2 separate regions of the Homo sapiens genome follow, and region 1 is linked to region 2. The links are contacts of gene promoters, found by promoter capture Hi-C in blood cells and fetal thymus (Javierre and others, 2016). All regions are on one chromosome and are shown on one strand. Each heading gives the region's core, a stretch centred on a gene start or on the middle of the fragment in contact. The rest is flanking DNA. Distances are from core to core; before and after follow the strand shown.

Region 1 (5,418 bases), core at 2,919-5,418, 620 kb before region 2:
TGTTGTTAAGGTTTTTGTGGTGCCCCACTGCCACAGGTCCAGCGAGAGAGGATCACAACAGATGCCCAAGTCCTAATTGCTTTCCCTGGTTGTCATCTTCATACATAAATAAATTAGCAGCCCAGCCCTTGACACTGATGGTATGAGTGGCTCACCCTGAGCAGCTGTTACAGAGTGTCTCTGATATTAATCACACACTCCCTCCAATGGCAGTGACCTTAGGGTGAAAATGCCTTGCTCTTGTTCCAGCAACTGAGGAGCAGTCAGTCTCACAGAGCGAGTATATACTTGTGCTGGGGAGAGTGAAGCTTTGATTCTTATCATTATGATAATCACAATAATAACATTTTTATATCACATTAGGGTTTACAAGCATTTTACATTTGTGATCACCATTGAGCCTCAACAATGTTTTGAGGTAGAAAAAAATGGTTATCTCCACTTATGATAGAAAAACCCAAATTCAGAGAGATTACTGGCCCTAAGATCCTAAAGCTGGAAAATGAAATCTTTCACCCAGCAAGTCTAGCACTGTCTGCATTATATTATCCTCTTTCTTTAAATGATAAGTAACTGCCTCTAGTTCTCCCCTTTGATGCTGAAGTGAATTGACTCAGAAATGTTAAAATATGCACAACAATTCTTGATTAAATGCTCACTATACCCCACGTACTGTGCTAAATGCATCACAGCCAGAATATCATCTAATCCTCACCCAACTCTACTAGGTAAGTATCTGTGTCTTTCTTTAGAGATGAAACAAACTGAGGTTCAGAGAGGTTAATAACTTGCCCAAGGACACACAGAGTTCAAGCATTCAACTGCAATTCTATACTGCTAGCCTCAGAAAATACTAGTGACTGAGAGCCAGCAATACCACTGCACAAGGCAGAGGACTGCTTTTTCATGGTTGGATAGAAGAAAGGGGAAGCTGCCTCTGGCCTCTGGAATCAAGGGTTGCTTCACTTCAGCTTACTGCACTGACCGAGAGTTTATTTCTATAATTTCAAGAGGAGAGTTGTAAACCCAGTGCGGTGGAGGTTGCTGGGGATACAGTAGAGGAGCAATGGAACGTTTCATAAGTGCATGGTAGAACATGCATGGCTCTCACGCTCCTGCCCTAGTCCTGCCGCCTGCTGCGTGTGAAGTGTCCCCTCCCACTGCATTGCCCCCTTGTGAGGCAGGTACAGCTGGGAGCTAGACTCTTATGCTTGCCACATCACCTCTGACTTTAGCTGTGGCTGGGGTGCACAGTTCAGAGCCCAGCTTTGTGCTTCCTGCCCAGAGTGTCTGGCTTCCAGCACATATCTTATATTTCTGCTTTCTGTCCCAGGGATTCCCTGATACCAGGGATGCCTGAGGGAGCTCAGAAGACCCATACATCATTGGAGAGGGGGCAGAAGAACTCTGGGGAAATGCTCTTTCACCTCTCCTTGTGAGAGCACAGTGGCAACCCCCACAATAAACCTTTATTTTGTCTTTTTTTTTTTCTGTTGCTGTACCCCATTCTTTGCTCCTTGGGATCACCTTAGAAATAACCTACCTGCATCTAGATTCTTGTCTCAGGTCATGCTATTGGGAGGAACTCAAACTAAGAAAACATATTTCTTTTCTAACAGCCTTTATGGTGTCATTCACACGTTATGTCTTCTAAACAGGGTGGCCAAATTGTGTGGTAATTATGGTCTGCATTTGAATTCTGGCTTCTGTGAGATCTTGAACAAGTTACATAACTTCTCTGAACCTCAGTGTCTTATTTGCAAAAGGAGAATTGAAGTAATACCTTCTTCACTGTGTATTTTTGTTGTTGTTGTTGTTGAGATGGAGTCTCGCTCTGTCTCTCAGGTTGGAGTGCAGTGGCGCGATCTCGGCTCACTGCAAGCTCCGCCTCTCGGGTTCAGGCCATTCTCCTGCCTCAGCCTCCGGAGCAGCTGGGACTACAGGCACCCGCCACCAAGCCCGGCTAATTTTTTGTATTTTTAGTAGAGACGGGTTTCCCCATGTTAGCCAGGATGGTCTCGATCTCCTGACCTCGTGATCCGCCCGCCTTGGCCTCCCAAAGTGCTGGGACTACAGGCGTGAGCCACCGCACCTGGCCAAATTTTATGTGTGTTAAATGCATGGGGCAGTGTCTAGTGTTCAGTAAATGCCAGTGTTGGTCCAGTTACTGTCTACTATGGTAATAAACACAGGTTTTGGAGTGGGAGGGGTTTGTCTGCATCCAGTGTCATTTACTTGGTGTCCTGTAGCCTTTGGTAAGTTTCCTTTCTTTGTCTCCCTTATGTATACAACGAGGCTAATAAGACTGGCTACATCATGGGGTGTAAGAGTTAGCTAATACATAGTCTGGTGCATAATAGCAGGATTTCAGTATTAAATGTAGCTGTTATTGAAATAACAGTTTCTAGTTGGATTTAATGGCTTCCTCCTCTGTAATCTTTTCATACTTCCTCATATAACTTCTAATGGAGTTACTGCGCACTTCCCTGTCTCTCCCCCAAGACTATGAGCTTCTTAAGGGAAGGGGTTATGAGTCATTTCTCCCTGAAGCATCTGGTATTGTACCATGACTTTCAGGCAAGACGATTAAAGACAGTTTTAGTAGAGAGTCAGAAGAAGCGCTTTTGGGAAGCACTCTAGTTTGGCTACCTCAGTGAATAAGAAAACTGTAGTTCCAGAGTTCCAGAAACATTAACTGAGCACTGGCAAATGCCATTGACAGGGCAGGCAGAAGGCAAATGAGAAGTAGCTGAGAGGAACTGGCCTCATTCGGCTAGTGGCTTAAGGCGGTCTTGGTTAAAGAGGCTTTTCCTGGAGAGGCAACAGGGTTGTGGAAGCGGAAGTGCTAGCCACTAGTGTTGGTGAAAGTCAGATGCATCTTCTAGGAAGCACTTAAGGCTTTTCAGAGGCAGGATTGTCAGCTCAACCATGGCTTTCCCTGAAAAAGAGACCGAGGGCATGCAGGGGAGCTGGAGGGGGGCCTCTGTGTGACACCTGGGCATGGGGCTGTCCTGGCCGTGAGGGGTGGGGTGAGGGCGGAGGGTCAGAGGAAGCTCTCTCTAACCTTATTTCCCTTTAGTTTCTCATGGGACTACACCCTCAACATCAAGTCAGATGAGGGCAAACATGCCCTGGAGAGAGGAAATCACAGAATTTGGTTGTGTGGCTGAAGAGGGTAGTACAAGGGTGGAGAGGGACAGCAGCGTGGACTGGCAGGTAGCAGAGAGCTGGGTCTGCAGAAGAACTTCGGCATCTGCTCGGGGCTGACAAGAGGAGTTGGCTTCTTTGCTATCTGTCCTGCATAGCTGACCAGCAGGCCAAACTTACTGCAGCTTGTGGCTGGAGTGTTAGCCCTGATTTGCCTCAAGGATTCCAAGGGAGATTCATTTCCTCCTATTTTCTCTTGGGCCTCCATTCCCCTCAACACAAACCTTCTCAGCTAATCCCTCTGTGCTGGCTTCAGAAGAAACTGAGAGATTGGTGGCAAGGAGGGTTGGAAGCCAGAGGTGGTTTCTCCAAGTTGGGGATTGTGGTGTTTGAGGCATTGCCTTCCGTCTTTGGGGCAGACTGGGAACTTTGGTAGGGGGTAGCTGAGAACTGCTGCTCTACTTCATCTCTGATCATAGTGGAAACACAGGGATGGGACGTGGCTAAGGGGTCATCTTATCCAGACACCTATGCAATGCAGGATTCCACTTAATGGCTTCTTGTACAATGACTTAAGGCTCACTCCCTCTGGAAATTATCTTGGCTGAATATTTCCACCCTGCCCCCCCTCCCTCCAACAACTCTTTTCAGTTTCTTCTTACCCATCTGGCCACTCCTTAGTTTCCCCCCAATTTCCTTTTGCATGTTGGTGTTGCTGGATCTTTGTCCTTGGTCTTCCCACTGACTTCAACTGCCTCTTACAGATCCATGACCTCCAGTTCTATAGTGCCAGTCCTGATTACTCTGTTCCCTGGATGTCCTTTATGCCTCCAAACATGGCACAGCCAAAACTCCTCCCCCAGATGTTCCTCTTCTGAATTCCCCAGCTCAGTGAATGGAGTCATTTTTCACCCAGTTTGCCTAGTCCAAAATCTGGGTGCAATCAGCTACTCTCTTAAATACCGCCCCGCCTCCCCCCCACCCCCCACTGACCCCACCGCTGCCCCCTGACCCTCACCCCCAATAGTCTCACACACTCCCCAGCACCTCCACAGATACATGTCACCAGATGTGCTGATTAATTTCCAGGTGCCCTCCAGGCCCATCTCCCTCCTTGTCCTCCCTGCTCTGTGCCCCAGGAGGCTGACTTCTGGGCTGCGTCATCCAGGATCTATTGCCCTCCTGTTCTGGGTTGGGTTCTGTCAATGGGAGGTCCTGGGAAGATAAATAAGTTGATGCATTTATTATTCCTGCCCCTTCCCTACTGGGCTGTGGTTTGGCAGTGACTGCATTTCTTCCCCTAAGGTCTTGGCTCCTGTGAGCCTGCCCTCTCCCAGGAGTTCAGTCCTTTCTAAGTTCCAATAACCACTGCCTCCCCTTGCCCCTTCAGGTCTAGGGCTGGTAACAGCTTCCTGCTGTTGTTAGTGCTTCTGTGTGATTGTCCCTTTTGGTGCTTGTAACCCTGCCTACACTTTTCTGTGTATTGTCCCTTTAGTAAACTTTCTGCAGCTATATCTTTAAGCACCCTGGATGTTTCTTGCTAGGATGCTGCCAGATATATCAGGTCATGACATTACTATCTCCTTCATCTTCTTCAACTCTAACTTTGACTATTTAAAAAACAGGAAACTGGTTTTCTAAAACGAAATCACAAACAGTTCCAGGCAATAGTTCCAGCCACATGCCTCATTATTGTATCTGACCTGACTGTCTTGTGGTTCTTCTCATCAGTATGACGTAGAATTATTAGTCCCATACTTTGGCTTTGTTTCCTGCCTCAGGTAGCATTGATGGCCCTCCATACTTCCCTTCAAGTTTCCTACAGGGTGTTCACATGTACTCATTCCCTTGGATGCTTGCCTTCTCTGTAATATACAAAGTATGGGGCATGCACCATCAAAGCTGGCTTCATGGGTGTGAGGTCCTACACTTAGAAGGGCTCAGTGCTTGGGTTCTTGCTCTTCTGTTACTGTCTTGAAACTATTAATAATTTTCTTAAATTTATTTTTAATTTTTTGTGAGTATATAGCAGGTGTATGTATTTATGGAGTACATGAGTTCTTTTGATATAGGCGTGCAATGCTTAATAATCACATCATGGATATTGGGGTATCTATCTCCTCAGCATTTATCCTTTGTGTTATAACAATCCAATTATACTATTTTAGTTATTTTAAAATGTACAATTAAATTATTGTCAAATATAGTCAGCCTGTTGTGCTATTAAATACTAGGTCTTATTCATTCTATGTTTTTTTTGTACTCATTAAC
Region 2 (6,047 bases), core at 3,284-5,783:
TAATGGGCAAGAGAGTTACGTAAAGATATGACTTTGGCTTGGTATTGTTACCAGCTAAGTGAGAGGTCTGTATCTCATAGGAGACATTTACCTCAAACTGGGACATTCAAAGCAGGTTTCCTCAAGAAGATGACACTTGAACTACGTCTTAAAAGATGAGTGAAAATTAGCCAGGTAGCAGGAGTTCCAGACATCCTGAACAAAGGAACAGCTGCCTAAATTGCTCACATTGTGTGTATGTGTAGTGACACAAATAGACTGGGAAAATGTGGGCTGTGGTGGGATGTGAAGCAGCAGAGTCAAATGGGAACCAGGTCAGAGGCCCCTGGTAAGCCCAATTAAGGAGTTAATAGTAATAACAGAAGCTGATATTTATTGAGCATTTACTATGTTGCAGGCACCATGTTAAATACTTTAAAACAATATTTTATTTAATCCTCACCATAACTCCATAATCCTCATTTTACAAATGAGACCAGGGATGACTAGTAGGTAAAGCAACTACAACAGGCTACACAGCCAGTACATGGCAAGTGGGTCTGGAACCCAGGACGGCCTGATTCCAAAGTTTATACCCTACACTCTTCTACCACCAGCCTATCCTCAAAGAGAGCACTAAATGAACGCATTGGGTCCATCATGCTGGCTATGGAATGGAGAATGCAATTAAAGGCTGCCCAACTGGGGCTCCGTGACAAGGCAGGGATAGGAAAGAGACAACAAATTGATTCAAAAATACATTCAATGGGACCTAGAAGGAAACATTCAACATGCACATCCTCCTAGTGCATACAACAACAAAAAAAAATGAGGCTTTTGAAAATGAGGTGTAGAAAATAAAACACCAGTATTCCATAATGCTTTCAAATATAAACAGTTAAAACACGTATCCTTTTCTTTACTTATAACATGCTCCCAGCTGTTAAATTCAATGGCAAAGACCAGGTCTGTCTTATTCATCTGAGATGGTATCCCAGGTCTGAGCATCCTGCCTGGCAAGAGATACTCAATAAATATGGTTGAAAAGGTAGAAGAAAAAATGCCCAGTTTTTGCAATGATATCAGAGGTGCCTTATTGATCCAGAGTTAAAAACTAACCTTACTGAAAAAATTAAAAAGTCATGTTCATAACTGAGTAGAAAACATGTAGTAGTTATGTTGACTACATAGACAACAGTCATCATTAGGGAATGCTACATTGAAAAGAAGGCAATGAGTTCAAAATGTGATTAGTATTTTGTATAAATCATAACTCATTAAAAATAAGATGTTGAGTGGCCTAAAGGTGGAAATGTGTTTTTATGAGGCGGAAAAAAAGCACGAGTAGACTGAAGATCAGATTTGGGGCCTAATGATGTCTAGTCTCTTACCCTGACAAAATAAGCAGGTTATTAAAGTGATGTGAAGAACCTGATCACTATGACACTTTTACAAATTCTTTGTCCTCAATAAGAATCTATCTACTTCCAGGAACCTGAAAAGTCATATTTTTCAGACCTGAAGAGTTATTGTGCACTTTACAGTTTTCCCCAAAAGAGTCATTTCTTAATTTTGATCATTTAGGAAGAGTGAATCTATTAAGTCAAAAACGAAGAAAAAAAAACTTTCTATTTCTTAGTGAAATTTGTTCTTTTATTTAAATCCTTTGCATACTACTAAACAGAAGTACAGAAGCTACTAAACAGAAGACAGATTTTTGGGCCTTTTTAGGTGACGTAAAAGGAGCTTGTTGTTTATTAAACAATCTCATTACCTGATATATTATCTTGCATTAAGATATTTTGAAAAAATGTTTTCAGTTTACCAATTACGTTAGAGAAATTCTGAAACTATTTACTTACATGAAAAATTAAAATGTAAGTAGAATTAGGTTTCTCGTCTTCAATATATCTGTCTTCAACCATTGGCCAACTTTGAAAATTTAATTTGAATCAAATGAATACAAATTCAAAATGATTCATTAATTCAACCATTTTGAAACTTCAGTTCTATAAAAATATGAAATCTGTGGGCCTTGTAAAACTGTCTAAATACCCAAATAAAAAGCCACCACGTTTTTAAGCTAATTGTTTAAAAGTGTGTATATTGATGAAATGAAAGTGACTCGTGAACTATTGGGTCTGGAATTTGCAAATCATAAACCTTATCCTTGTAAACAGAACCTAACTAACAACATCAGGGCCTGCTAATTTCCTTCTTTTATAATCTGGAACAAAAGTTGTAATGATTTTTAACATCCACAGAAAATTAAGGGTGCCATTTTAAATATTTATTAGCAAAATGTCACTTAGGTTTTAAAAGTCTGGAGGAAAATGAGAGACAATTGAACATTCTGGTACTGCAATGCAGGAAAAACGCCAAGAACGAAACACTAAGATTTTATTAAAACCATAGGACTCAAATGTGTGTCAAGACTTTTTGCTTGCAATAGTGCCTCTTCCTAATTTGATTAAAAGCTTCCATCTCCATGCCACCTTCAATGTATGCCATAATTTTTAAAAAGTTCCCAATCCACTTCAAACACTCTAAAATTTACAACTGACCGTGATGCGCATTTTTTCTAGACAAACCTAAAGGTAAATCTGCCCATGTCCCTGGATAAATAAAATGAGTGCCTCCGGGTGATGTGGACTGTCAACTCCTCTACATTTCATCCAAAGTCTACATGGGTCATCTCCAAGTCACCAGAAGAGCCAGGGGAAAGGAGGGGAGGGGCACGATACGTAAGATGTTAAACATGAAGATGATGTAAAATTACCCAGATTCAAGCTGGCCATTTTACAGATGAGGAAACTAAGGCCCAGAAAAAGCTCTATGACTTGCCCAAATACTCGGTTACCCAGACCACAGCTGCAGATACTGTTATTTGGATCATAGCTGCAAAAAGTCTAACTTTTGGCCGGGCGCGGTGGCTCACGCCTGTAATCCCAGCACTTTGGGAGGCCAAGGTGGGCGGATCACGAGGTCAAGAGATCGAGACCACCCTGGCCAATATGGTGAAACCCCGTCTCTACTAAAAATACAAAAATTAGCTGGGCGTGGTGGCACGCGCCTGTAATCCCAGCTACTCGGGAGGCTAAGGCAGGAGAATCGCTTGAACCCAGAGGCAAAGTTGCAGTGAGCCGAGATTGCGCCACTGCACTCCAGCCTGGTGACAGAGCGAGACTCCGTCTCCAAAAAAAAAAAATCTAACTTTTGAAGTCTCAGAGGTTTTACACTTTCCATAACAAATAGTTAAGAACCCCCATTCCTGCATGCATATATATATTAATATTATATATATTTATATATATAATTATATATATATTTATATATATATAATATATATATATATTTTTTTATTTTTATTTTTTCCTTAAAAACCTTCAGAGACAGCGATCAGGTGGGTAGCCTAGTTAGGATTTTAACCCTTCGGTTTCCAACAAACGATAATTGCATAGAACCATCAACTCCCTGAAGACAGGACTATCTTGTTCCAGGCAAAATCTACAGCCTCTAGCACCCAGTAGGCATTCAGTGAGGGATTCTCGGTTTCACCTGAGCATCTCCACTCCCTATCCATCCATGCCAAGGCGTCAGTGGAGCCAGCTAACTTTCTTTTGGAAATCGATTATTTTCTTGAAACTTGTTTCCAAAAACTCCGGGCCAAGAAGCCGGCCTGAGGGAAAGCGTGGCCGTCTCCAGGAGCTAAGGACTGAGGAGCTGGCCTTTTGAACGGGTGGCTCAGAAAGAGCTGGGTGGGCACGCGGCATCGCCATGGGCGGAGTGGCCCAGGTGCGCTGGCTGCTTTGGCAGCTCAGGCTGCCGCTCCGGGCCGCTGCTCCCCGGCCGCCTTCAGATAACCAACTTCTCAAACTTCCCTTTCCGGGGGTGGGGGCTCGCCTCGAACGCGGCCAACACAACGCCTTTCCTGCTCGCACAAAGGGGACCAAACGTGCCCCGCGCCCCTTGCAACTGAACTTTCCTTCTCTTTTTCAAGAAAAACTCACAATCCCTGCAGCTACGGGAGTCGGGCTGCGTGAGTGTCGCGGGGGAAACTTTCCTCGTTTCCGCCCGGGGGCCGGGTTGCCGGGCCCGACTGTCAAGCGCAGCGGAGAGGCGGGGACCCCAGGAAGACCCCCGGCGCCCCGCCGAGCCCGGGCTGGGGACCACTCACCCGACTTCTGAACGTGCGGTGGGATCGTGCTGGCGATACGCGTCCACAGGACGATGTGCAGCGGCCACAGGCCCCTGAGCAGCCCCCGACCCATGGCAGACCCCGCTGCTCGTCATAGACCGAGCCCCCAGCGCAGCGGACGGCGCCTTCCCGGACCCCTGGCTGCGCCTCCGCGCCGCGCCCTCTCCGGACCCCGCGCCGGGCCGGCAGCGCAGATGTGCGGGCCAGATGTGGCGCCCGCTCGCCAGCCAGGAGGGGGCCTGGAGGCCGGCGAGGCGCGGGGAGGCCCCCGGCGGCCGAGGGAAGCTGCACAGGAGTCCGGCTCCTGTCCCGAGCGGGTGCACGCGCGGGGGTGTCGTCGCTCCGTGCGCGCGAGTGACTCACTCAACTTCAACTCAGCGCTGCGGGGGAAACAGGAAACTCCTCGCCAACAGCTGGGCAGGACCTCTCTCCGCCCGAGAGCCTTCTCCCTCTCCTCGACGTCCAGCCCCTAGCTCTCTCGTAGCTGCCAATCATGTTTCCTAGACCAGCCCCTCCGAGAGCTTTGGCCGACTTTCAGCTGCCCCTCACCGCCCTCCCACACCACTCAGGAGTTCCTCGCTCCAAGTATTTACTCAAGAATGACTAAGTGCACACAGTTCACAAAGTAACAACAGAAAACGTCCACGTTTTCCCTAGTAGATCAGAACATCTGCCGCCTCCCCTCAGCTTTCTTCAGATTGCTCCTAGGTGCTTTAGAGATGCGTTTTCAAATTGCAAGTTGAGATCCAGGAGTGAATACTCCAATCTATTGAGTCGCGAGCACATTTCTTTCCCAAATAAAATAGTAACGGTAAATTCTACTTCATTAAATTTGTGCTTCAGTTGTGTCTATATGCATGTATGTATGTGCATACACTGTCAAGTTGTAAAATGTTTTTCTTTAGGTCGAAGTCTAGAGGTTTTTCTCAAGTTTTAATGTACATATTGATCACCTGGAAATCTTATTTAAAAATGCAGATTCTAATTCAGTAGGTCTAGGAGGCAGGCAGAGATTCTGCATTTCTAATGAGCACCTGGATAGAGCGTCCCATTTTGCACCGCCTCTTCCCGGGACTGAGTCAGTGAGTAATTGTAAATGATCACCTATCACGAAGTGATAGTGGTGGGAAATGTAATTTTCAGAATGTATAGAGTATAGCAGAAACTGTAAAATTAAAAGTGGGTTGGGAGTCACCTGAATGCTTGTGCTTTTATTCCCTTAATGCAGGTGAAGAAAGAGAATACTTACCCTCTCATGTGCAAACGGGGTAACATGGGAGCAGAACAGTATAAACTTTCAAATTTCCTTTCTTGCTAGGGCAACCAGATTTGCCCAAGACATTCCTGGTGTACATGTTTTGTAGTTTAAATATTAATAGAACCCCCTTTCTCTTTCAGATATGTCCTGATTGGATAATAAACTATGTGATCAACCTACTTCCCACTCTCAAAGATATGATTCTGTACAGCCCTCTGGTCAGTAGATCTTCTAGCAATTCATTTAATGAATTCCTTTACCTGAGAGGAAGATTGCAGAGGCAAGGGTTTGTGCCAGGGTCTCCAGGGAATAAAGGTAAATAGCCCTCCCCCAAACCCAACTCCCAAATCTTTCCTGTCATTCTAAGTGTTCATTTGCTTCATCCTGGAATTTTAACTCATGCTCCACCTAGCACCCAAGCTGCCTCTGGATGTTTTGCCACTTCCCAGTACTCATGTTGAAGATGCAGAAAGTGCAGTGAAATCAGGAGGGCTAGGCATCTTCTTTCCCACCAATTAATTGCCTTGCCAAAGCTGGAGTGACTTTGTCAATGGAGGAAGATTGAGTTCCAAATCTTCTCCCTATTCCCTCTTCTGCCACCAGCCCATGCCA

Evidence for each region. The method cuts DNA at HindIII sites, captures the fragments that hold promoters and counts their contacts. A CHiCAGO score of 5 or more calls a contact.
Region 1: a fragment that was not itself captured here is called in contact with the fragment with the promoter of TGFBR2 in region 2 in 4 of 17 cell types (total B cells, non-activated CD4 T cells, monocytes and 1 more); the score reaches 10.2 in total B cells.

The regions. Positions count from the first base shown.
Region 1 is chr3:31,229,998-31,235,415 of GRCh38, reverse strand. No RefSeq gene overlaps it. Among named protein-coding and RNA genes, the nearest start is that of MIR466, 71 kb to the right of the region's middle. The HindIII fragment of the contact is 7,716 bases long and covers 311-5,418 here.
Region 2 is chr3:30,605,087-30,611,133 of GRCh38, reverse strand. TGFBR2 (transforming growth factor beta receptor 2) reads right to left here and starts at 4,533. Exons shown (of 7, transcript NM_003242.6): 1 at 4,157-4,533. The coding sequence starts at 4,250. LOC105377015 (translation initiation factor IF-2-like) reads left to right here and starts at 4,210. Exons shown (of 2, transcript XM_047449400.1): 1 at 4,210-4,988; 2 at 5,576-6,047. The coding sequence starts at 4,210. The coding sequence ends at 4,650. RefSeq lists a silencer at 4,360-4,459. The HindIII fragment of the contact is 4,009 bases long and covers 2,459-6,047 here.